Linked DNA regions of Homo sapiens: regions 1 and 3 are each linked to region 2. Evidence: promoter capture Hi-C in 16 types of primary human blood cells and fetal thymus (Javierre and others, 2016). All regions are on one chromosome and are shown on one strand. Each heading gives the region's core, a stretch centred on a gene start or on the middle of the fragment in contact. The rest is flanking DNA. Distances are from core to core; before and after follow the strand shown. Region 1 overlaps IFT140 (intraflagellar transport 140). Region 2 holds the start of CCDC154 (coiled-coil domain containing 154). Region 3 overlaps JPT2 (Jupiter microtubule associated homolog 2).

Region 1 (4,950 bases), core at 1,163-3,662, 130 kb after region 2:
ACCAAGGTCTGGGCACCAGGTGTGCCTGCTGGGACAGGGTTGTTGCTTCTAGGCCCTCTCAGCTGACAGAGTGAGGAAATATGTGTGTACCAACGGGTACATTGATACAGACCTACGATTCTGTGTATGGAGTCATCCCTACCTACATGAAGCCAGGGATTTGTTCATGCTGACACCTCTACCTCTGATCCACTCTCCCAGGGCCTATTCTAGTCCCTCCACTTGCTAATCTGTAACTCCCACTCCCACTCCCACCACGCGATGCCAGGCTCCTGCCATCTACCCTCCATTTGCTCAGCTGTCCAATTCCAGTGCACACGCATCACAGGATCAGCGTTGCTCATCCCAACCCCTGTGGGGAGCAGAATTCTCCACTAGAGAGCCGAGCTCCTGTGCAGTTCCTTCGGCCTAAGTGCTCGCCAGGGCCTCCCCTCACTCCCAGAGCCACTTAGGTCAGCACTTTCCCCCCACACCCTTTAGTGAAGCTGTTTCATACATTTGGTAACACAGTGAGACTGTTTTGTTACCTTCTGTGTTCCGTCCTGGGGTCCTCTAACATTCTAAGTGATTTTTTTGAGACAGGGTCTCACTCTGTGGCCCAGGCTGGAGTGCAGTGGCACAACCACAGCTCACCGCAACCTCGATCTCCGAGGCTCAAGCAATCCTCCCACCTCAGCCTCCCAAGCAGGTGGGACTACAGGTACGTGCCACCATGCCCAGCTAATTTTTAAAAGTTTTTGTAGAGACAGGGTTTTGCTATGTTGCCCAGGTTGGTCTCAAACTCCTGGGCTCAAGCAGTCTTCTCGCCTTGGCCTCCCAAAGTGCTGGAAATACAGGTGTGAGCTACCCTGCCCAGCCTGAATGATTTTTTAAACATTTGTATACATTAAGGTTCACACTTTGCACCATAAAGCGCTATGATTTCCAACAAATGTACAATGTCATGCACTCATCATATAGAAGCTTCCCCACCCTCACCACTCCCTGTGCTTCAACTATTCAAGCCTCCTCTCCCCGACACGGCTCCACCACCAGGCAAAGGCCAGGAACTGAGCCCCAACATGAGGCATTCGAGAGCACAAGTGGCATGTCGGTGTTAAAATGGGCACCTAAGGAGTCTTCTGGCTTCTAACTCACTTTCTACCCATCACACTGTCTCCTGACTGACTAAAAAAATGTTCACACTTCTATTTGGAAAAAAAATTTACCTTCGGGAAAGATCAAAGCTTTTAAAGTGAGCCAAGTCTGTCCCTACAACCAGGAAATTCCCACAGATGTCCAAGAAGCAGGGATTCCCCTCAGTCTCCGAGAAAAGGAGGAGTTGTTTGACAGTCCCCTGAGGAAAAGGAACAAGAAATGGATATATTTCATGTTAGTTACTGAACATTGTTCACAGATAACCTTGTACACACAAGAAATGGATATATTTCATGTGAGTTACTGAACATTGTTCACAGATAACCTTGTACACTCCACTCATTCACTCGCTCAGTGTTTACTGACGGCTCAGAGTGTGCCCAGCACTCTGCTGGACTCTAGTGCTGCGGGGGAAGGACGGGGCCCTGTCCTCAGGAGAGCTCTGGTGCCTCCAGTCTAGAGGGGAAAACAGACAGCAGTGCGGTCGACAAACAAATACATATGTAATCTCAGCTGAGTAAGTGCCATGTAGGTAAAGAATGGGATCTCAGGAAAGTGCCAGGCACGGAGAGAGGGCGAATTCCATCCACTGGGGAGCTCTGGGGGGCCCTGTCTGTGGAGGCCCTGTCATGTGAAAGCCGCAGGAATACTTGTTACGTTGTGTCACGTGAATGGTTACCCTGGGTGAGGCGGTGGGGGAGAGGAAGGATGCTAGTTACATGCTGGCAATGTCCCACCCGCGAAAAGCCCCTGCACCGTACGCTTAGGCACGACGCACCCACTCTTTCTAAGTGTGTGGGTATTTCAGTAAAATGTTTAAGAAGTCAGCCAGGTGGGCAGAGGCCACAGGGGCGTTCCTGCAGGCTGAGGGGAAGAGTGAGATTTCCTTCTAAGTGAAACTGGAAGACTGCAGGGTTTTGAGCTGGGAAGTGATTTCGCATCATTTATATTTTCAAAGCATCACCTTGGCCTTTCCAGCATGTTAGAAAGCACGTCCCACAGTCGGCACGTTAGAAAGCATGCCCCACAGGCCGGGCGCGGTGGCTCACGCCTGTAATCCCAGCACTTTGGGAGGCCAAGGCGCGTGGATCATGAGGTCAGGAGATCGAGACCATCCAGGCTAACACGGTGAAACCCCGTCTCTACTAAAAATACAAAAAATTAGCCGGGTGTGGCGGTGGGTGCCTGTAGTCCCAGCTACTCGGGAGGCTGAGGCAGGAGAATGGTGTGGACCCGGGAGGTGGAGCTTGCAGTGAGCCGAGAACATGCCACTGCACTCCAGCCTGGGCGACAGAGCAAGACTCCATCTCAAAGAAACAACAACAAAAAAGAAAGCATATACCCCACAGTCACCCCACAGTTGCGCTGGAGCAGACCTCATGCTTTGTGGTGTGTCTTTTAGGGACTAACCTTAATCCTCTGAGTTTCAAAGCGAAGCTCTTGGCTCAATTCAACCAATGCCCAGTGAATGCCTACACCCTGCCCAGCAGTGGGTTGGGGGAGGAGCATCACAAGTGAGTGGCACATCCCCAGGGCACTCCACGTGGGGGCAGCGAGTCAGATGCGAACGGCTGAATGCATCCTGGGGCCAAGACAGGCAGCAGGGAAGGCACAGATCTAGTGCATGGGAGCTGCACAGAATCTGAGTGGCAAGGCAGGCTGGAAGGTGGGCAGAGCTCCAGGAGAACTTAGTGGGCACGGAAATCTAAACACAGACTCCAAAAGCCAGCAAAGGGGCAGGAGCCTGCACAGTGTGTTTAGGAAACTGAGGGTGAGGGACGGATGGCTGGAGTCAGGGTGGGAGTATTCCAAGCTGAGGAAGCTCACTTCATTTTGATGTATCCAGTGGGAGCCTAATAAATGCTTATGGAATGAGCAAGTGGCTGCTTGAACACAGGATAAAAAGAGCAGGGGGAGCGGACTAGCTGATGGGGCCAGGGCTGACACTATTAATGATGACAGAGAGCACTGGAGGCTCCTCGGTGAGCTCACTCCCTGCCCTGCCCCTTACCTGCTGGGTCCCGGGTTCAGATCTGAGCTCAACTCTTTTACATTCTTTAACATCTCTATGTCAATACATTCCCAACTCCCAAAGTACTGTCTTCAGGGCACTGACCCAGCTCCTGACCTCCAGAGCTTGTATTTCCAACTGTCTCTTAGACACCCCTAAGGGCTCTCCAAGGCACCACGAACTCGAACTTGCATCCTGCCCTGCCCCCTATGCCAGCTCTGCCTCTGGAGTTCCTGTCTTAAAGGTGCCACGACAAACCCAACCTCTCAGGCTAGAAAACTCAGAACATCCTCAGTTCTATACTCTCTGTAGCCACCCATCATGCAACTAGTCACCCCCCTTATAAGAGCCACAGTGCCCCTCCACTCCAGCTCTGCTGGTGGCTGCTGCCTGGGGCCAGGCTGAGCTGCTCTCCTGCGGCGTCTCCCACAACTTCACTCTTCTCCACCCTTAAGCTTGGCTCCCCACTACGCTGGCACAGAAGTTACTTTCTAGGGAGAAAATAACACAAAGCCAAGAAAATAAGTCAAAATTGGGGAAAGGAAAGAACTGTTATCAGAGGAAGGTAAGTCCTTTTCAGGGATCAGGCCCCCAGAGACCTTAAATGAGGCAGCAGCCACGCCCTGCTCTCCCTTGAGCTGTGTTCTTCTCTGGAAACTGCCTGCTGCCGCCACAGGTAGCTGAGAACTAACCTGATAAGCTGCCGCAGACCATACCTGCACCAATGCTCAGCCCATTGCTAATCAATGGCATTTCCATCAACCAAAGAGGATTCCTGACCAACAACCTGACATTAGCCTGTGCCCGGTCCCTCTTTTCGGCCTTAAAAACCTGCCTGTAACAAACGTAAAATGGAGCCCAGGCCCAGTGTTCCTCGGGGCTGAGTTTTCTGGGCAGCTGCCTTTATCCTGGCTCAGGTAGACTACTCACTTAATTACTTATTTATTTTTGAGACAGTGTCTCACTCTGTTGCCCAGGCTGGAGTGTAGTTGTACAACCACAGCTCACTACAACCTCAACCTCCCTAGGCTCAGGTAATTGTCCCACCTAAGCCTCCCAAGTAGCTGGGACCATAGGTTTGCCACCATGCCTGGCTAATATTTTTGTATTTTTTTGCAGAGACGAGGTCTCACTATGTTGCCCAGGCTGGTCTGGAACTCCTGGGCTAAAGCAATCCTCCCACCTGGGCCTCCCAAAGTGCTGGGATTACCGTCATGAGCCACCATGCCCAGCCAAGTAGACTGTTTAAATCACATTTTGTGCTTCAGTCTCTTTTTGGTCAACAAAATGTACCCTGTCACTCCTAGCTTCAACCCCAACTGCCCTCAGGGTGACCAGCCCTCCTGCCTCCCTTCCCACCTCCCACCACCAACTGGTCCCATATCCCACCCCCTTCCATGGCACTTGACCTTTGCATGGGAGGCCCCTCCCTCAGGTTCTCCATGGGGCAGATGTGACTCCCTGAAACATACGCAGGGCTGGGGCCCCAAAGTTCTGGCCTAGGAAGCTGTCCTTTTAAGGACTGGAAGCTCCTAAGTGTCTGTAGTCACTGCGTCCCTGACACAAACACTAACAGCAGCCATGCATCTGCATCCTGAGGAGGGATAGTGACCTGGAAGGACATGCTGGGTGTCCAAGAAGGGTCATGAGGGATCACTAACCCACCCTTACTCACGCCAGAGCCACCTTACTAGTTACAACTGACATGTATTCCTTTTGTAACTTAATAAATTAGTGGCCAGGCATGGTGGCTCACACCTCTAATCCCAACACTTTGGGAGGCTGAGGCAGGAGGGTCACTT
Region 2 (4,819 bases), core at 2,320-4,819:
CATGCGCCCGCAGTCACAGCTACTGGGAAGGCTAAGGCAAGAGGATCACTTGAGCCTGGGGGGTTGAGGCTGCAGTGAGCTGTGATGGCACCACCACGCTCCAGCCTGAACAACCAGGCAATACCCTGTCTCAAAACAAAAAACGAGTGTCGGCCTGGCTTTGCTGCCTCTGGCCCTAGAGAGCACTCAGACACCCGGACTCAGGGAAAGGCAGACGCCCTCATGAGCGGCAGCTCCCCCACACCTGGCACCTTGGGAATCCTCAGCCCAGCACCCCTGCCTGCTCCACACGGCCACTCAGTAACTTCCTGAAGGGCAGTGAGAGGGAGGCTGCCGGCTCCGGGCAGTGGAGCTATGTGGGTGGCAGCTGGGTGCCCCGGCAGTCCTGGCCCCTCACCCAGCGTACTGCCTGATGCGCACGGGAGCTGGCTGCAGTCCCCGGTCTCTATTTGTGGAGCTCAGACCCGGGCTGCTGAAATGTGCAGCTGCCCGTTCCCTCCCCACCCACAGCGGAGGCCCCTGCTGAGGCCACAGCAGGAGGGGGAGCCACTCCAGCCCCGTGGGTGGGACCCTGGCTTCTAGGAACTCGTGTCCTCGAGGAAGGTGAACTCCGCTTTGTGTGCAGGGAAAGGTGGAGCCCGAGAGTGGCCGTGGAAGGGGCTTCGGGGCTGCGATCTGTGGACCCGGGCAGGCGCTGGCTGTGTGGGGAGGGGTGGAGGCGGCAGGACACAGGCAGCTTCCTGGGACGAAGAGCGCCCAGATCTGCAGCTGCCGGCCCCACGTGGCAACTGAGCTTTTTTTTGAGATGAGGTCTCGCTGTGTTGCCCAGGCTGGTCTTGACTTCCCAGGCTCAAGCGATCCTCCCGCCTCGGCCTCCCAAAAGTGCTGGGATTTACAGGCGTGTGCCACTGCACGTGGCCTGAGCTTTTGTTTTTTTGTTTTGTTTTGTTTTTTGAAATGGAGTCTCACTCTGTCACCAGGCTGGAGTGGCGCGATCTCAGCTCACTGTGACCTCCTCCTGCTGGATTCAAGCAATCCTCCTGCCTCAGCCTCCTCAGTAGCTGAGGCTACAGGTGCCCGCCACCACACCTGGCTAGTTTTTTGTATTTTTAGTAGAGATGGGGTTTCACCATGTTGGCCAGGCTGGTCTTGAACTCCTGACCTTGTGATCTGCCCGCCTCAGCCTCCCAAAGTGCTGGGATTACAGGCGTGAGCCACCGTGCCCAAACAACCTGAACTTTTGAAATGGGGCATGTGCGGCTGAGGAATTGAGTTTTACATTGTCTACAACTATAGCTGATTTCAGTGGACACAGATACATGGTGAACGGCCGCTGTATCGGATGGCACAGGCCGAGAGGGTTAGGGTCTCCTCCTCGGCCCTCTGGGCGGCCCCCCTGAAGCCTGGGCCTGGTGGTACCTGCATTCTGGCCACCTCCAGGTCCACCCTCCGGCTGCTGTCCTCTTGGTTCTTCTGCAGGGCGCCGCAGGCCACCTCCCGGCCCTGCTCCTCCTGCTGCAGCAAGTCGGTCAGCTTGGCCAGTCTAGAGAAGTCGGCTGTGGTCACACCAGCCCAGCTGGCCGGAGGGCCCAGCAGGGTGAGGCTGACCCACAGGCTGGCCAGGCAGGAGGTGTACGACCCCCGCCCCCTGCCCCACCAGAAAACAGAGGAATGGGAAACACAGCACCGGTGGCAGGGAAGGGCTGCTGCGAGTCTCTTCCCCACAGAGGGTCCGCAGCGGGCCCAGGCTTCCCAGCACGCTTGGCACCGAGGGCGGTGCCCCGCCGGGTTACTGGGGACACACGGCAGGGGGACCCGTGTCTTGGCTCAGCCAGGGACTCTCAAATGACCCCACGCAAGCTCCGGAGCCAGCCACGGGCGGTGGGCGCCCACCTGAGGCCGGCCTCTTGCTCGGCGCCCCTTCTCTCCGCCTCCTGTTGCACCTGCCTCCTCCTGAGCCGGGTCAAGGCTTCCCGGACCTCCACCAGCCTGGGACACAACAAGCCATTCCCGAGAGGCCCAGGCGGGCTGAGCAGCCTCGGCGGGCTGGGGGTCTGGCCAAGGGGCCCCTGTGGCCACCTCCCATGGCTTTCCTGGGCCTCTGAAGGCCGCCCAGGCACGTACAAACCCGGCCTTTTCTAGCTGGACCTGGATGTGTATCCCCCACTCCAGCGACACCCAGCGGGAGATGTGGACCCCCCACCACACCTGCCGCTGCTTTCTCGCCACCACCTCCCCGCCCTGGGCCTGTGCCCCTAGGTGTGTGGGGGGTACCTTTTGTCCAGGGCCTGCATCTGGTTCTGGAGACCAGAGAACTGCGAGGAGGAAGAGGAGGCTGTGGGCTGGACCTAGGCCCGGGTCTGGCACCTGCCCCTGGAGTCCACCCAGCTCCGGCACCACTGGCCCCTGGGAGCTCTGGGCCTGGGCAGCAGGGGTGAGCTGGGCTCCAGGCCCAGAAGCAGCTGCCCCCAACACCCAGGAAAGGGGCAGCTCGACCTGTGGGTGGGGGAGCCGCTCACCTCCGGCGCCTCCTTTTCGGGGGCCTGGGCTGCCGGCCGCGCCTCCTGCTGCAACTGCCTCAGCTCTGAGCCCTGCAGCTGCACGCGGGCCCGCACCTGGAGCAGCTCCCGCAGCAGGCTCCGCGTGGCGCGCTCACAGCGCTGCTTGTGCTCCCGCAGGCAGGCCACCTCGGCCTGCAGCTCCACCACCCTGGCCGGGGCGAGAGTGGGCGAGTCTGGCGGTGCCCGCCGTGGAGGCGGAGGCGGCGGCGACGTGGTCCTCCCCCGCCAGCACCCCCTGCAGGGCTCACCACTGCTCCAGCTGGTTCCAGTGCTTGGCGGTGTCCTGCTCGGGGACAGAGGCCGTGGATGTCGGATGGCTGGACTCATACCTCTCCGAGAGCTCCTCCAGGCTCAAGGGCTCGGGGCTGGCCAGGCCTCCTGCCAGGAGGAGCCCCAGGTCTTCCAGGGTGACGGCTCTCAGCTGGGAAGGGGCCGATGCCCCTGAGGGTCCACTGTCAGCCAACTCTACAAGGAGGCATCTTGGGAGCTTGCCCCTTGGGGCCCGGCCCCCACTGGAGCTTACGGGAACAAGGCCCCAAACCCCCGCAGGACCCTCGCCCACCACCCAGAGCTCAACGCGTCTCCTTGGGTCACACAGGATCCAGACGGGCTTGGCTCAGACAAGTCCAGGGCCCTGCCTGAAGACACACAGCACTGGGCGGCAGGAACAAGCGAGCTGGAGGGAGCCCGGGGTCAGAAGCAGAGCGGTCCCCACCCTCACACCTGTGGCAAGCCCCTCCCTGGGCCCCGCTCCTCCGCTCTGGTCACCTGACATGGCTGCTGGGCTGCACCGGCCACCCTGCCCTCGGCTGTAGCTTGGGCCTTGGGGCCTCTGAGGTTGCCCAGAGCTGGGCACAGGCCAGGGGGGTCAGGAGCCAGAGGAAGTCCCGTGAGAGCTCTGGGCCTTGAGGGACGAGCTGCTGCCCTCGTCTGGCTGCCTTCTCAGGGTCCCCAGGGAGGCAGGTGTGGGGCAGCGGGGCCGTTCCAGAACCTTCCTTCTCTCCCCAGAACCTCACGGCTTCACAGCCCAACTGCCAATGGAACTCTAGCCCTCAGCTCTCCCACTCCCGCAGGGCCCCCCAACTGCCTGCTTCTGGATGGATCTGAGGGGCCCCACTCCCGAGAGGGCGCAGACACGTGTCCTCTGGCAAAGGGGACTTCTTCAGCTGCCGAGGGAGGGGAAGGAGGCCCTGACGAGGCCTGGGCACGCCGGGAGGGACGCTGGGAGCAGGGAGGCCGAGAGCCCCAGGACACCCCGGACACAGCCAGGCCCACGTCCGAGCGGAGCCCGAGGCCTGGGCAGCGCCATCGGGGTGAGGGGCACAGCCGGGCTCCACGGGAACCCATCTTGCTCAGCAGCCCCATTAAAAGGCAAGAAGCAGCGATGTGAATCCTAACCGCTGATTTTATTTAACCGAATATATCCAAAATATGATCACTTCCAGGTCCTCAGTACACAACCACCACGAGGGAAACCCAGACCTAGGTTTCCGGCGCCGACTCTGAGGCCCGGGAGTTTTCTTCTTGCGTCACCCCAGCGTGGGCACCCCGGCCCGCCCCCCTCCACCTGGAGCGCCTCTGCCTTGCCCCCAGACCCACCAGCCAGGAGCCAGAGGAGGGAGGCTGAGGGGCGGGGACGAGGAAGAGGATGTGGCTGGTGCCCTGGGTGGCCGCAGCCGCTGTCTTTCACGCCTTTCTCACTCCACACGGTGCCCCGACCCCAGGGTCCCGAAAGTCCCAGGCTGTTGGACGTGGTCTGGGTGGGGTGGGAGGGACGACGCTGGCAAAGGCGGGCTGAGAGGATTTCTTTATTTCGCGTTCAGACCCAACACACTCGGACACCTTGGGGCCCTGTGAGGGCTAAGCAGGGTGGTGGCGTCAGCTCCCGGGGAGGCCCCACTCCCTGGGGAGGAAATACACGGCAGGGGGCCGCACCCAGCCCCCCACGGAGGGACCCGTGTTGCTCTAACAGGGACACTGAAGTTGCCTCTGCCGCCCCGTGAGGGGCCTGTGGCGGCCCCAGACCCAGCCCAGCCAGGCCAGAGGAGCCTCCCAGGGGCCCTCAGGTGGTGAGGTGGGGGCTTCCCGGCCCCGGTGCCCACCGGCCCTTCTAGCTGCCTGTGCTGGGCCAGGTGTCCTCTGAGGCCGGCAGGAGTCTGGCCCCCGCTGCACCTGCGCTTGGTGGCTGGCAGGGGCGGGGTAGGGAGGTCACCCTCGAGGCCGGGGTCCCCATGTGCTAGGGGAAGACCTGCCTTCCC
Region 3 (5,040 bases), core at 950-3,449, 240 kb after region 2:
AAAATTCAGAAAAGCACATAGAACAATATTAAATATTGTGTTTCCATCACCCCAAAGTAACACTGGTCATTGCAAGTAACTACCACTCACCTCCTGCGCCCATTGGTCCCCATTCCACATGGAGGCCACAGACTCAATTTGGGTTTCACCTCTTCCAAATTTTGGAGTCCCGATGGCACTAGGCGTCTGTCACGTCACTCACACAGACACTGAAACCACCTGTGCAGAGCTCTAGCTTTCCTGTTTAAACTTGAAGCTCCTCCGGGGTAAGGACTTGCTTTCCTCTATCTACGGCGTCTGGGGAAGGATTGCCAATGATAGGTGCTCGAGAGATGTGCAAGTTGAACTGAAGCAAGGGTGAAAGGCAGAGGAGACAGGAGACTGTGAATGTAGGGAATGTGGGGTCGGGAAAGAGTCCTACAGAGCTTGCAGTCAAGGCGAGTCTACCTGGAATCAGATCTGACAGTTTGTAGCACCTTGAGGGCTTGAGAGAAAAGCCATATTTGAAATAAGTCAGTAAAAGGAATTATAGCTCATGCTCAGCTCACATAAGACTTGATAAATTCAGTTCAGTTCGAAAGATTGCAGGCCTTCATCCCTTATTTCCAAAGAGAGAACTGTAGAGACCCGTGCATGTTTAGACCTGCTACACTATCCAAGAAAAATCGCAGAATTGGCTGGGCACAGTGGCTCACGCCTGTAATCCCAGCACTTTGGGAGGCCGAGGCGGGCGGATCACTTGAGGTCAGGAGTTTGAGACCAGCCTGGCCGACGTGGTGAAACCCCGTCTGTACTAAAAATACAAAAAAATAGCCAAGCACGGTGACGCACACCTGTAATCCCAGCTACTCGGAAGGCTGAGGCGGGAGAATTGCTTGAACCTGGGAGGTGGAGGTTGCGGTGAGCTGAGATCGCGTCACTGTATTCCAGCCTGGTAACAGAGTGAGACTCCATCTCAAAAAAATAAAATAGGCCGGACACAGTGGCTCATGCCTGTAATCCCAGCACTTTGGGAGGCTGAGGTGGGCGGATCACCTGAGGTCAGAAGTTCAAGACCAGCCTGGCCAACATGGTGAAACCCCGTCTCTACTAAAAATAGAAAAATTAGCTGGGCATGGTGGCGGGCATCTGTAATCCCAGCTACTCAGGAGCCTGAGGCAGGAGAATCGCCTGAACCCAGGAGGTGGAGATTGCAGTGAGCCGAGATTGTGCCATTGCACTCTGGCCTGGGCAACAAGAGCGAGATTTCGTCTCAAAAAAAAAAAAAAATGTAGAATTAGGAGGGCTGCGTGATTCAAAAATGGATATGGAAGTCAGATGGCCTTATGGCCACTCTAAGAGCACCTCACCTAAAATCTTGTTAAGCCACGCCCTCCCACCCACCACCCTTTATTTTTTTTCCTTTTGGTGAAACAAGTCCTCACTCTTTCGTCCAGGCTGGTGTACAGTGATGCAATCATGGTTCACTGCAGCTTTGACCTCCTGGGCTCAAGCCAGCCTTAGCCTCCCGAATAACTGGGACAACAGGCGCATACCACCACACCCAGCTAATTTTTTGTTTGTTTGTTTGTTTTTTTGAGACGGAATCTCGCTCTGTCACCCAGGCTGGAATGCAGTGGCGCATCTTGGTTCACTGCAAGCTCCGCCTCCCGGGTTCACGCCATTCTCCTGCCCCAGCCTCCTGAGTAGCTGGGACTACAGGCGTCCGCCACCACGCCCGGCTAATTTTTTGTATTTTTAGTAGAGACGGGATTTCACCGTGTTAGCCAGGATGGTCTCGATCTCCTGACCTCGTGATCCGCCCACCTCGGCCTCCCAAGGTGCTGGGATTACAGGCGTGAGCCACCACGCCTGGCCTTATTTTTGTATTTTTTGTAGAGACAGGGTCTCCCCATATGCCCAGGCGTGTCTCGAACTCCTGGGCTCAAACAGTCCTCCCACCTCGGCCTCCCAAGGTGCTGGGATTACAGGTGCCAGGTACTGCTCCCGGACAGCCCTTTCTCATTTAAGCTTGGTTATTGGTTATTTTTAAAAAATAATTTTTCTTAAGTGCACCTGTCTTTTTTTTTCTCCCTCCTCAAATCCTCCAGGAAATGGCAACTGCTGACAGGAAGTTTGGCATCCACCTCCCCCAGCCTCCTGAGTGGACAGGGGCCCTGGGCACCACTTCAGAGGTCGGCCAGCACACGCTTGGTTTCTGGGGTACAGTAGCCAGCCCGTGGGTCTCTGCAGGCGGAGACTGAAGCACTCTCTGCCTTCCTGCTTTATAGCAGGAGATCTGAGAACTCCATTCACATCCAGTCACAAGGAGCCCTCAGCGCTCTTTCTAGATCTTTTGAGGAGAAACTGTTATTTTTGTTAACCAAACCTTGAGTGGTCAGTGTTTGCAAAGCTTTCCAGTGAGATCTAACCTCATATCATAGTTTTTGTGTGATGTTGAGCCCTGTAATTTCAAGTATGGTCATCCTTGGTATCCTGCGGGAGTTGGTTCCAGGACCCCCAGGATGCCAAAATCCAAGGATGTGTAAGTCCTTGATATAAAGTGGTGTAATGTTTGCATATAACCTATGCACATCCTCCATATGCTTTTAAATCATCTCTAGGTTACAAGGTTACATATAATACCTAATACTATGCACATAGTTGTTACACCGTATCACCTGGGGAATAATGACAGAAAAGAAGTCTGTAGATGTTCAGTACAGATGCAACCATCCTTTTATTTCTGACATTTTGATCTGAGGTTGGTTGAATCCATGGAAGCAGAGCCCGTGGATACAGAGGGCTGACTTCGTTTCTAAACGTCTGGGATCACAGACAGTCCCATTGCTTAGGACTAGTGAGAGAGCATGTGCCACTCACTGGTTTAAATCTCAATTTCAGTAAGCCTCTCTCTCAAATGCATTTAAAAGTTTTTCCAGTTGTTATGAATTCAGCGTTTCACCGGTTTTTAATGTAGATAGTGCTCTAGAAATAGAGCTTTGTGGCAATTCCTTATTAGTTCTTAAGTTTAAGTTTTTACAATAAAAAGTGATTCAAGAGCCAGGTGCGATGGCCCACACCTGTAATCCCAGCACTTTGGGAGGCCGAGGCAGGTGGATCACCCCAGGTCAGGAGTTCGAGACCAACCTGACCAACATGGCGAAACCCCGTCTCTACTAAAAATACAAAATTAGCTGGGTGTGGTGGCGCATACCTGTAATCCTAGCTACGTGGGAGGCTGAGGCAGAAGAATTGCTTGAACCCAGGAGGCGGAGGTTGTGGTGAGCTGAGATTGCGCCATTGCATTCCTCCAGCCTGGGCAACAAGAGTAAAACTCCGTCTCAAAAAAAACAAACAAAAGTTAGCCAGGTGTTGTGGCAGGCACCTGTAATCTGAGCTACTCAGGAGACTGAGGCTGGAGAATCACTTGAACCCAGGAGGCAGAGGTTGCAGTGAGCTGAGATCGTGCCACTGCACTCCAGCCTGGGCGACAGAGCGAGACTCCATCTCAAAAAAAAAAAAAAAAGAATACTTTTAAGGGAAACTAAAGAGCAGCAGAAGTAGTCTGGCGTCTGTAAACTAGTCATACCAGTATTAACTAATGGTGGTATGTGATTTCTCAGTAGATGTTAAGAAAATACTTTTGCTGGGTATGGTGGCTCATACCTGTAATCACAGCACTTTGGGACGCCAAGGTGGGCAGATCACTTGAGCTTAGGGGTTCAAGACCAACTTTGGCAACATGGCAAAACCCTGTCTCTACCAAAAATACAAAAAATTAGCCAGCTGTGGTGGTGGGTGCCTGTAATCCCAGCTACTCAGGAGGCTGAGGTGGGAGGATCACTTGAGCCCAGGAGGCAGAGGTTGCAGTGAGCCAAAATCACGTCACTGCGCTCCAGCCTGGGTGACAGAATGAGACCTTGTCTCAAAAAGAAAAAAACAAAATACTTTTACCCTGTCTAGTTGTGCCAAAATCCTTGCACAGTGACAAGCTTTCAGGTCTGCCATCAGTAATTGGCATGTACTCTGTGCTTGTAGGGCCATGAAGCCCCCAGGAGGAGAATCGAGCAATCTTTTTGGAAGTCCAGAAGAAGCTACTCCTTCCAGCAGGCCTAATAGGATGGCATCTAATATTTTTGGACCAACAGAAGAACCTCAGAACATACCCAAGAGGACAAATCCCCCAGGTATGGGCCTTTGGAAATCCTTAATCCTTTGGCCTCCACGATTCTCTTTTGAAAATATTTTCTGTTTCTTTATACTGATCCTTTCCCATATTGTCTGGTTCAGGTAATCACTTGTTATCAGAGTTCTTCCAAAATGAAAACGTTCTGATTTGTACTTTCTCTCTTGAAGGTGACTTGAGTAGTCTTGAATTCTCCATCTGTTCTGGAGACTTTGGTTGAATACAGGCACTGAGGACACAAAAGTGGACGGGGGCTTCTGGTTCCTGCCAGGGAGCTGCTCCCAATTGTTCCACGGACCCCCATGAGATTCCTGAAATTGCGTGCAAATTATTGTGCATTTAAACATTTTTCCTAGGGAGGGAGAGTGTTTTTATTCAGATCGTCAGTGGGATTGAAACTCTTAACAAGGAAGAATTGATCTAGCACACATCTACATAGTTCTTCAGTATTTACCCAACCTCCTAGTGGTTACAGTAGGAGGGACTCTTTGAAAAAGGTTTCTTGGCCAGGCGCGGTGGCTCATGCCTGTAATCCCAGCACTTTGGGAGGCCAAGGTGTGCAGATCACGAGGTCAGGAGATCGAGACCATCCTGGCTAACACAGTGAAACCCCATCTCTACTAAAAAAGAAAAAAAATTAGCCGGGCGTGGTGGCGGGCACCTGTAGTCCCAGCTACTCAGGAGGCTGAGGCAGGAGAATGGCATGAACCCAGGAGGCGGAGCTTGCAGTGAGCCGGGATCGCACCACTGCATTCTAGCCTGGGTGACAGAGCGAGACTCCGTCTCAAAAAAAAAAAGAAAAAGAAAAAGAAAAAGGTTTCTCAGCCGGGCGTGGTGGCTCATGCCTGTAATCCTAGCACTTTGGGAGGCCA

The links. The method cuts DNA at HindIII sites, captures the fragments that hold promoters and counts their contacts. A CHiCAGO score of 5 or more calls a contact.
Region 1: a fragment that was not itself captured here is called in contact with the fragment with the promoter of CCDC154 in region 2 in 1 of 17 cell types (M1 macrophages); the score reaches 5.1 in M1 macrophages.
Region 3: a contact is called between a fragment that was not itself captured here and the fragment with the promoter of CCDC154 in region 2, in 2 of 17 cell types (naive B cells and endothelial precursors). The highest score is 6.4, in naive B cells.

Annotation. Positions count from the first base shown.
Region 1 is chr16:1,570,199-1,575,148 of GRCh38, forward strand. IFT140 (intraflagellar transport 140) reads right to left here. Exons shown (of 31, transcript NM_014714.4): 14 at 1,209-1,336. Among named protein-coding and RNA genes, the nearest start is that of TMEM204, 39 kb to the left of the region's middle. The HindIII fragment of the contact is 2,377 bases long and covers 1,225-3,601 here.
Region 2 is chr16:1,440,987-1,445,805 of GRCh38, forward strand. It overlaps CCDC154 (coiled-coil domain containing 154), which reads right to left and starts at 3,570. Exons shown (of 17, transcript NM_001143980.3): 1 at 3,330-3,570; 2 at 2,810-3,026; 3 at 2,520-2,709; 4 at 2,275-2,315; 5 at 1,894-1,989; 6 at 1,420-1,543. The coding sequence starts at 3,336. It overlaps CLCN7 (chloride voltage-gated channel 7), which reads right to left. Exons shown (of 25, transcript NM_001287.6): 25 at 3,949-4,819. The HindIII fragment of the contact is 15,368 bases long and covers 1-4,819 here.
Region 3 is chr16:1,681,419-1,686,458 of GRCh38, forward strand. JPT2 (Jupiter microtubule associated homolog 2) reads left to right here. Exons shown (of 5, transcript NM_144570.3): 2 at 4,021-4,169. Among named protein-coding and RNA genes, the nearest start is that of JPT2, 5.7 kb to the left of the region's middle. The HindIII fragment of the contact is 382 bases long and covers 2,009-2,390 here.